Linked DNA regions of Homo sapiens: region 2 is linked to region 1. Evidence: promoter capture Hi-C in 16 types of primary human blood cells and fetal thymus (Javierre and others, 2016). All regions are on one chromosome and are shown on one strand. Each heading gives the region's core, a stretch centred on a gene start or on the middle of the fragment in contact. The rest is flanking DNA. Distances are from core to core; before and after follow the strand shown.

Region 1 (4,562 bases), core at 856-3,355:
ATCGGAATTAGAATATTTAAACCAATATATCGAAAATATAATTTTTACATAAAATCAATATAAGAGATTTTAGATTCTTGTTTTTCACATTAAGTCTTCAAAATCCAGTGTGCTACATATTTTGTACTTCTGCGTCTCAGTTCCAAAACCTTCATCAGAAATACTTGTCTGTATTGGATTTAAAAACTTTACATTTAAAATATACATGCACATACCCAAGTTATTCCAAACATACTTTTTTCCAATAATGTAATCAAATATCCAATTTTAAACTTAAAATTAAAAATGAAGTTATGAGCCCAGGTGGTCAGCGTTGCAGTTAACCGTGACTGGGCAAGTGCATTCCAGCCTGGGCAACAGAGCAAGACCCTGTCTTAAAAAAAAAAAAAATTAAAGTTCGGTTCCTCAATTCCACTAGCCACATTTCAAGTGCCCACTTGCCATGTGTAGCTACTGGACAGCAGGGAGCTACACCCTAGGTACTCCCAATGTGGTTTCCAAACCAGTGGCATCTTCACCTAGAAACTTTAGAAACACAAAAGCTTGGGCCTCACCCTAGACCTCCTTAAACAGAATCTGCAACTTAACAAAATCCCCAGGTGATCCATATACACAACCACATTGGGGAACACTACTTAGAGTGTTTTTAAAATAGATTTTGCTACTTTAACACCTAGTGATAAAAGTAAAAACATTTATTTTACTTACATACACCAAATGTGACTCTTTCATCTATGTATACCCTTGTTTACCTCAACCAACACCCCGGGAAATGCTAGGACCTAAATGTGATCAATTTTGTTTGCAATTATCTCACAATACATCCAGGTGATAATTCTTAAGAGTCAAAGACGCAGCTAAGAAGGGTGGCATTACCTGTAGATTATTTTCTTCCATTTTGTTTCGAAGTTTTGTTGAAACAAAAATGAAGATTTATCCTTCAAGCTCTATTTGAGAGAATCAGCACTGACTCAGCTGTAATAAATACAAAACCGTTTTTGTAAAGCGATACCTGAAAGAAATAGCTGCCTAGTTCAGAAGGGAAGAACGAAAGCCTCTTTCTTACTCCTTACTACAGTATATAATTTAAATAGAACGCTTAAAAGTAAATAATGAATTCACCTCTGAGTACTCAAAAAAAAAAAAAAAAACACGAAAGCAGGACTCGAACAGATATTTATACACCGAAGTTCATAGCATTATTCACAATAGCCAATCTGTGGATTAAATGTGGACTACCATTTAATCCACAGAATGTATCCAGTATTTTTTCAGACATTCGCAAACAGGCTCAGAAAGCGTAACTTTTCACTACGTCAAACCCTACTAAGAGCGAAAACAGCCATCCTTTCCCTTTACTATCATGAATAGTTCAACTAGATACAAACGGAGCAATCTTAGGAGTTCTGCCCATTTCATTGCTAAGACCCTCAACTTCAAATTTTTTCAAAAATTTTTCCACACATCGTCAAAATGAAATTTCGAGGGGGAAAAAAAGTGTCCTTGATAAACTAGAGATGCTCCAACATCTATTCAATTCACTCACGAACTTGAATTTAAATTTTAGTTCTCTATTGCACATGTGTCTCCAACAACTAGACTTTAATCTGGAATCTAGGCAACATGTTAGTCACCAACTTGTATTAAGAAACCCTGGCCGGGCGCGGTGGCTCACGCCTGTAATCCCAGCACTTTGGGAGGCCGAGGCGGGCGGATCACGAGGTCAGGAGATCGAGACCATCCCGGCTAAAACGGTGAAACCCCGTCTCTACTAAAAATACAAAAAATTAGCCGGGCGTAGTGGCGGGCGCCTGTAGTCCCAGCTACTTGGGAGGCTGAGGCAGGAGAATGGCATGAACCCGGGAGGCGGAGCTTGCAGTGAGCCGAGATCCCGCCACTGCACTCCAGCCTGGGCGACAGAGCGAGACTCCGTCTCAAAAAAAAAAAAAGAAAAAGAAAAAGAAACCCTGCTCACTGAAACCAACGCTTCTGTCTTTGTACGGGCCGTCGCTTCCATCATCCTGCGGTAAGCAGCATGCCCAACCGAAAAAACAAAGCTCGTCGCGGAGCCGCCAGCGTCCTCAACTCAGCGCCGCCCTGACGCCCGCGCACGCACGGCCTCGCTGCGTGACGCTACCGCCGCGGCTACGCCGGCGCCCGCACCCGCGCCTCGGCCTCCCCGCGGGGCTCGCCAACCTCGTGCGCTCTCACGGTCGGCCTTGGGCCCCGGGAGCCTCATGGTGCGCCGAGCTCCGTCCCTCTAGGCTCTCAGTTCCAAGGCGTCGGTTTTGCGTCTCGTAACGGCCGCTGTGGCGCATGCCCAGAAGCCATTTTCAAGGTCCTCTTCCGAACCTTGGCGAGGACCCCTGCGCCTGCCGCGCCGTTGACCCCGCTAGCGTGCGGCTGCGACGCGGCACGGTACGGCAGCTGTTGGCGAAGGCCCCCAACTCCGAGCGCGTCCGCAGACCGCGAGCCGGAAGGCGGCTTGGGCGGCTGTTGAGTTCGTGGCGCTCCCGAGGCGTGGCAAAGGCCTAAAAACGGTCCTGGCCAGCGGAAGGCGGCAAGAGGAGCAGCAAGGCTCCACGCGAGGCGGCCGGCGGCTGGAGTCCCAGTCAGCCTCCGCTTTCATCCCAGAGCAGTCCACGGGGGCCTTAAAGGAATGTAGGCTGGGTGAAGTTGGCCCAGTGACACCTGCGTTCAGAAAAACGTTCTTTCCGCTCCCAACGCCCCCTCTCCACCGCCACCCGACCCCCGAAATAGTTTTCCCCGAGTGTTGTGGATAGAACTGTTGATCTCTTGGAAAAGTTATTGTATCCTGCCATCCTTCCCTCTGGAGACTCCACTTAATATATATAAGTACTTTCTTTCCTGTATATGATGGAAGAGTATTAGGGGGGTGAGGGGAGGGACGAAGCTGCCTTCTTTAGGGAAAAAAGATTGACTTATATTTTGAAAGATGCAAAAGCTGGTGTTTTTGCTACTGAATTAATAGCCTATTAATATGCCACAAATGATATATTGGAACTGTATTTTCAAACATTTAACGCCTGCTGTATGCAAAGCACTATGCTGACAGCTTAAGGGTACCACAATGATAAATTACACCAATCTTGTTTTTGGCATTTTGGGGAGTCTAGTGTCATAGGTAAAGAAGTACATAACTAACAATAAGCTTCAAAAATTCAATCATAAGGCCCGGCACCGTGGCTTCCGCCTGTAATCCCAGCACTTTGGGGGATCACTTGAGCCCCGGAGTGTGAGACCCCGTCTCTACCAAAAAAAAAAAGAAATTAGCTGGGCATGGTGGTGCCTGCCTGTGGTCCCAACTGTTTGGGAGGCTGAGGCCGGAGGATCACTTGACCCCAGGAATCTGAGCCTGCAGTGAGCTATGATTGCACCACTGCACTCCAGTCTGGGCGACAGAACCAGACCATGTCTAAAAAGAAAAAACACTCAGTGATAATTTCACATTACAGTTTGAGAGGTTCCTGTTGACTTGGGGAAACTAGTTTTAGCAGACTTCATTAAAGGAGTGTACACCTTACTACAGGATGTAATTTAAAATAGAATGTTTAAATAATAAATTCACTTCTGGGTATATACTCAAAGCAGGAATTCAAACAGGTATTTGTACACCAAAGTTCGTAACAGCATTATTCACAGTAGCCAAAATGTGGAAACAACCCAAATGTCCATTAAAGGATGAATAAACAAAATGTGATATACATACAATGGAATATTCAGCCTTTATTTTTCCAATCAGAGTTTCAGGAAAATCAACCTTTAAAAGGAGTGAAATTCTGACATTTGCTGCCACATGGATGAATCTTGATGATGATATGCTGAGTGATATATAATCAGTCACGGAAGGACAAATACTGCATGATTCAATTTATATCAGGTACCTAGAGTAGCCAAATTCATAGAGACAAAGTAGAATGGTGGTTGCTACGGGCTGAGAGGAGGAGGGAATTGAGAGTTGTTTAATGGGTGATGGAAAAGTTTTGTAGATAGGATGGTTGCACTGAATGCCACTGAACTTAAAAATTGTTAAAGTGGTTTTATGTATATTTACCACAGTTTCAAAAATTTTAAGGAAAACATAAAAGCTATCATCTATACAGCATTCCTGGATCTAGGGTTTTTGCCTCCCCTGCTGGTTAGCCCATTTATGAACTTGAGCTCCTCATGTCCATTCCCTCTCCAAATTTGCCTATTTCATCATTCTCCTGGCCTCCTACTCTTATTAGAGTCTGAAAAATCATCCTTGGCTCTGTCCATTTTTGTCCTTCCCACACTTGGACAATCACCAAATTTTGACTTCTTCAAGCTGTCATCTACCATCTGTTCCTTCCCACAGCTAATAGCTTAGCCTTGTCATCTCATTTTGTCATTATAACTCATCTTTCCTTCGTACACAAGGTAAGTCCTACTGAGTTATAGACCATGTAACGTCTTTTAGAGTGGATTTTAAGTCAAATAGGCCTTAAATCCAGATTTTACTATTACTGCATAACCTTTGGAAGTTGCATCCTCTCTGAGTGTTAGGGGGTTTTTTTAAG
Region 2 (4,698 bases), core at 219-2,718, 91 kb after region 1:
CTTCCCTTTCAGGTTCATTAATTTGCTGGAATGGCTCACAGAACTTCAGAAAACGCTTAACTTACTATTACCAGTTTATTACAAAAGATACAAATGAACAGCCAGGTTGGAGAGGTACATAGGGTAAGGTCAAAAAAGGTCCTAAGCATAGGTGCTTCTATCCACATGGAGTTGGGTGTCTCACCCTCCTGGCACATGGTTTGTTCACCACCTTGGGAGCTCTCCAAACTCTCTTAAGGGGTTTTTATGGAGGCTTCATTATATAAGCATGAATGATTACATCACTGGTGATTGAACTCAATCTCCAGTCCCTCTTCTTTCCCAGAGGTCCTGGGGTGGGGCTGAAAGTTCCAACCCTCTAAACATGGCTTGGTCTGGTGACCAGCCCTCAATCTAAAGCTGTATAGGGGCCCCTCACCCAAGAGTCATTTCATTTGCAGACGGAAGAGATGCTATCACTCAGGAGATTCCAAGGTCTTTAGGGGCTCTGTGCTAGGAACAGGGGGTAAAAACCAAATATTTTTTATTGTACCACAGTAACTGTTATTATTTATACCCTCTGATAGAAGAGCCGTCAGTTTTTAACATGACTTGTTACCAAAAACTTGTTGATAAATTTCCCAAAAGCATTAACTTAAATATAAATTAGGAAATAGAAAAGCTTAAGTTAATGAAATAACCATCTCATTAATAAGATTTAATGAAAAATAGGTTACTATAATTTATATTTTAATTATATTTTATGTATTACTATGTATTACTACCGATTTTAAAATCAATTGAACATTAATAAAACATAGTGTGGGAAATTGTTTTATTAAGTAGAACAGATATTTGTATAAATTGTCCACATGAATTATTTAATACATAATGGAAAATGTTTTTAAATCAGTGAACTAATTTTTAAAACATATTTAGATAATTTTGAAAGTCATTGTAAGGAACATATTTATTGATTATAAATCAAGACTGAATATTGGTATCCAAATGCTGTGATATGTATTGTTGAAAAGCATAATGTAGTAAATCAGTATGAAAAATGTTTATGCAGATTTGATCATCAGATATAATTTAGCAATGGGCAACTTAAGGATGTTCCCGTGGGTTTTTTGTTTTCATCTTGTTTTACTTGGGATTTAAGTAGAATAGGAAAAACCAAATCAGGTAATAATTTTAGAAATATTTTCTCGGTACGTTCATGTACTTAAATATATTAACCCTTTTTATAATACCTTTTAAAGTTAAAAAATTGATTACAGTTTAAATGTACTGTATAGGCTAGGTATTAGAATTGGATTTTTCCGTAAGGTTTAACAAATATGTATGCTTTTTATGTAGTTTAACAAATTTCAAATTGGATTTTTCCTTAGCCATTTTGGACCCTTTGGATTACTATGTTTCTGTTTATTTAATTCCTAAGTAATTCCTTTCTTTTTTAAACAGAGATAAAAGCAACAGTGTTTGATGACTGCAAGAAAGAAGGCGAATGGAAGGTAGAGTTTGCATACCTTGCTCTTATAAAAAATAATACAAACTTTAAAAACAATACAGTATAAAAACTACATAGTATTTACATGGTATTAGGTATTCTAGTATAAGTAATCTAAAGATAATTTGACGTATGTGGGAGGATGTGTGTAGGTTACATGCAAACACTACACTATTTTATATAAGAGATTTGAGCATCCATGGATTTTTGGTATACACAGGGGTCCTCGAACCCCCATGGATACCGAGGGATGACTATATAGGGTCTGGAATCACACTGCTTGGCTCCAAATACTAACTTCACCACTTAATAGCTGTGGCTCCTTGCACAAGTTACTTGACCTCTCTCTGCCCCATTTCCTTGTTTATAAAAATGGTGATGGTAATACCTCATATGGTAATTGTAAATATGAGGTGAATTAATCCATGGAAATTACTTAAAACAGTGCTTTGTGCAATAATTGTTCTACAAGTGGCAATTGTAATTTTAAGAAAATTTGATGTTAAACAGTGTCATTCAAAATGAATAAGCTCTATGTTTCAAATTAGAAATATTTCTGTTTGTTTACTTATGTACGATACTATATGCATGTATATTGAGAAAATCTCTAGCTCATGCAAGATAAAAGATGAGATCATTTTGCCTACTGTTCTGATATTTTGTGTTATAAAAGGCTTATAAAGTTTAATGGATAAAATTCTTTTTTTCATTCTTGGTAATAGGATGCTTACAGTATTTTTAAATTTGTGTTTGTTTTAAGATAATGCTTTTAGATGAATTTACCACTAAGCTTTTGGCATCGTGTTGCAAAATGACAGATCTTCTAGAAGAAGGTATTACTGGTAAGTGTTATTCTTGGCATGAACACTTTTTAATTGTAATTGGGGGAGATCTGAGGTATTAAATTTTAGTTAGTAGTTGTGTTTCTAAGGAGCTTATTTTTTTAAATTACTGTAGCCATAACTATTAGATTTAACATTCTTTTCTCTGAATCTTCTGTCAGTTTTTTTCCCTCAGCCGAGACATATAATTAAGACCTCTAACCAAGCCTAACTTAATTGCTTTGTTGAGGTTGTTCTTTAAATGTTTTACTCATATATACATATATATATATAAAACAATTTTGTATATTGATACACAAGCTTTACTTCAGTATTTTGATTTAGTTTATGGTTTCATATATCGCTTTAAAATGGATATCAAGATTTATGTCATAAAATCAGCTGTTGTACATGTTTACAAATGCATAATGCTGACTTCGTAAATTTATCTTTATTACCAGAAATGAGACAAATAATTATAAGTTTAAATCAGTTTTAGTATGAAAATTTGAAATACTTACAGATTCTGAAAAAAAATCATAATGTCATAAGAAGTTATCTTCCTCTAGGCGGGATTATGTTATTGAGATATTAATCTGTATTACCTATTGAGGAAAATACCAATATCTTGTAACATGCATAATCATGTTATTCTTAATTCATCATCCTTTAACTCACTTATTAAAATTTGATCTTCATAATAACCCTATGAAGACAGATAAATACTCTCATTTGTAATGAGGAATCTGAGGCTCCAAGTGAAATATAATTCATTTATATTTTGGATCCTAATGTAGTTTATGTACCGTCTGTTACTCCTAACTTAATGAAGTTCAAAAGTATACCCAGTATTCTCAAGAAAGTCTGACCATATAATATTTATGTTTTGATGTTTACACATAAAATAATCTTTTTTTTTTTTTTTTTGAGACAGGATCTCACTCTGTCACCCAGGCTGGAGTGCAGTAGTGCGATTTTGGCTCACTGCAGCCTCCTCCTCCTGGGTTCAAACAATCCTCCCATCTCAGTCTCCGAAGTAGCTGGGACTACAGGCACACACTAGCACACCCAGCTAATTTGTATATTTTCTTGGATAGAAACAGGGTTTCACCATGTTGCCCAGGATGGTCTCAAACTCCTGGGTTCAAGTAATCCACTTGCCTTGGCCTCCCAAAGTGCTGGGATTACAGGTGTAAGCCACCATGCCCAGCCATAAAGTAACCTTTATTGTTTATTACATATTCAATTGTGGTCTTTCTGACCCTCAATGTAAAAAGCTCTAAACTAGAAATTAGAAAATTGAAGCCTTGATTTTTCTACTCCTGGATAAGTGAAATATTGATTAAGCCACTTAAGTTTTTTAAGTTCTGAAAGGTCATTCTGATGTGAAACTAGGGTGAGAACCATTTGATAATACATAAAAGTTCTGTGGAACTGCAGAGCCATTATGCACTGTAGGGAGGTTTTATTGCATTTTGTAGACCATTGTTTCTTACTGTATGCTCACTATTAATAGATATTCTTCAAGGAAGGGATTCCATGGCCAGTACATTTAGGAAACAGTATTAAACAGAGCTCCACAGCTTTCTTTAGGACTTAAGAGTCTTTATATGCCAAGGTATAAGTGGATCCCCTGGGTAAAATGATAGTATTCAGTTTTCTAAACTTATTTGGCCACAGAAAGCTATTTTTGAGAAGCATTTCATAGGACTGTATATCATAGAGCTCGCTGCTGTGGGATACCTTTGATATCCTCCAGAACCACCTAAGTTTGCTATGGTTTAATTGTAGTCATATCTTCTAACTTAAACTCAAAACAGTCCTTTTGAGTTCCACATTAGCTCTCCTGAAAATCCCTCTATGAAACTGGGCACTGGCAGGTTCAGCAGTCAAACTTTCTGTTGTCATTCAGGTCATTCATGAAAATATTTAGTAGTGTCTTGGGATTAAAACAAAATCGGGAAAAAAAATGCTCTGTCAGGATTTGCTACTTGAGTGGAGAATAAAGTCAAGTATAAAACCTTAAAAAAAATAAACTGAAGCTGGGTACAATGACTCATGCCTGTAATCCCAGCACTTCGGGAGGCTGAGGCAGGAAGATCACTTGAACTCAGGAGTTCAAGACCAGCCTGGGCAATATAGTGAGACTTTGTCTCTACTAAAATCCAAAAAAATTAACCAAGCATGGTGGCACATACCTGTAATCCCAGCTACTTGGAGAACTGAGGCAGGAGGATTGCTTGAGCCAGGGAAGTCAAGGCTGCAGTAAACCCTGATTGTGCCACTACACTCCAGCCTGGGTGACAAAATGAGACCTTATTTCAAAAAAATAAATAAAAAGTAAAAAACAGACTGGGAATTAGATTTTTTTTTTCACTATTAAAGACC

What was found. The method cuts DNA at HindIII sites, captures the fragments that hold promoters and counts their contacts. A CHiCAGO score of 5 or more calls a contact.
Region 2: a fragment that was not itself captured here is called in contact with the fragment with the promoter of HENMT1 in region 1 in 1 of 17 cell types (naive CD8 T cells); the score reaches 5.2 in naive CD8 T cells.

The regions. Positions count from the first base shown.
Region 1 is chr1:108,658,988-108,663,549 of GRCh38, forward strand. HENMT1 (HEN methyltransferase 1) reads right to left here and starts at 2,106. Exons shown (of 8, transcript NM_001102592.2): 1 at 1,976-2,106; 2 at 877-975. The coding sequence starts at 897. RefSeq lists enhancers at 1,825-2,414, 2,415-3,003 and a silencer at 2,070-2,239. The HindIII fragment of the contact is 2,630 bases long and covers 541-3,170 here.
Region 2 is chr1:108,750,814-108,755,511 of GRCh38, forward strand. STXBP3 (syntaxin binding protein 3) reads left to right here. Exons shown (of 19, transcript NM_007269.4): 2 at 1,444-1,493; 3 at 2,250-2,331. Among named protein-coding and RNA genes, the nearest start is that of STXBP3, 6.5 kb to the left of the region's middle. The HindIII fragment of the contact is 1,618 bases long and covers 660-2,277 here.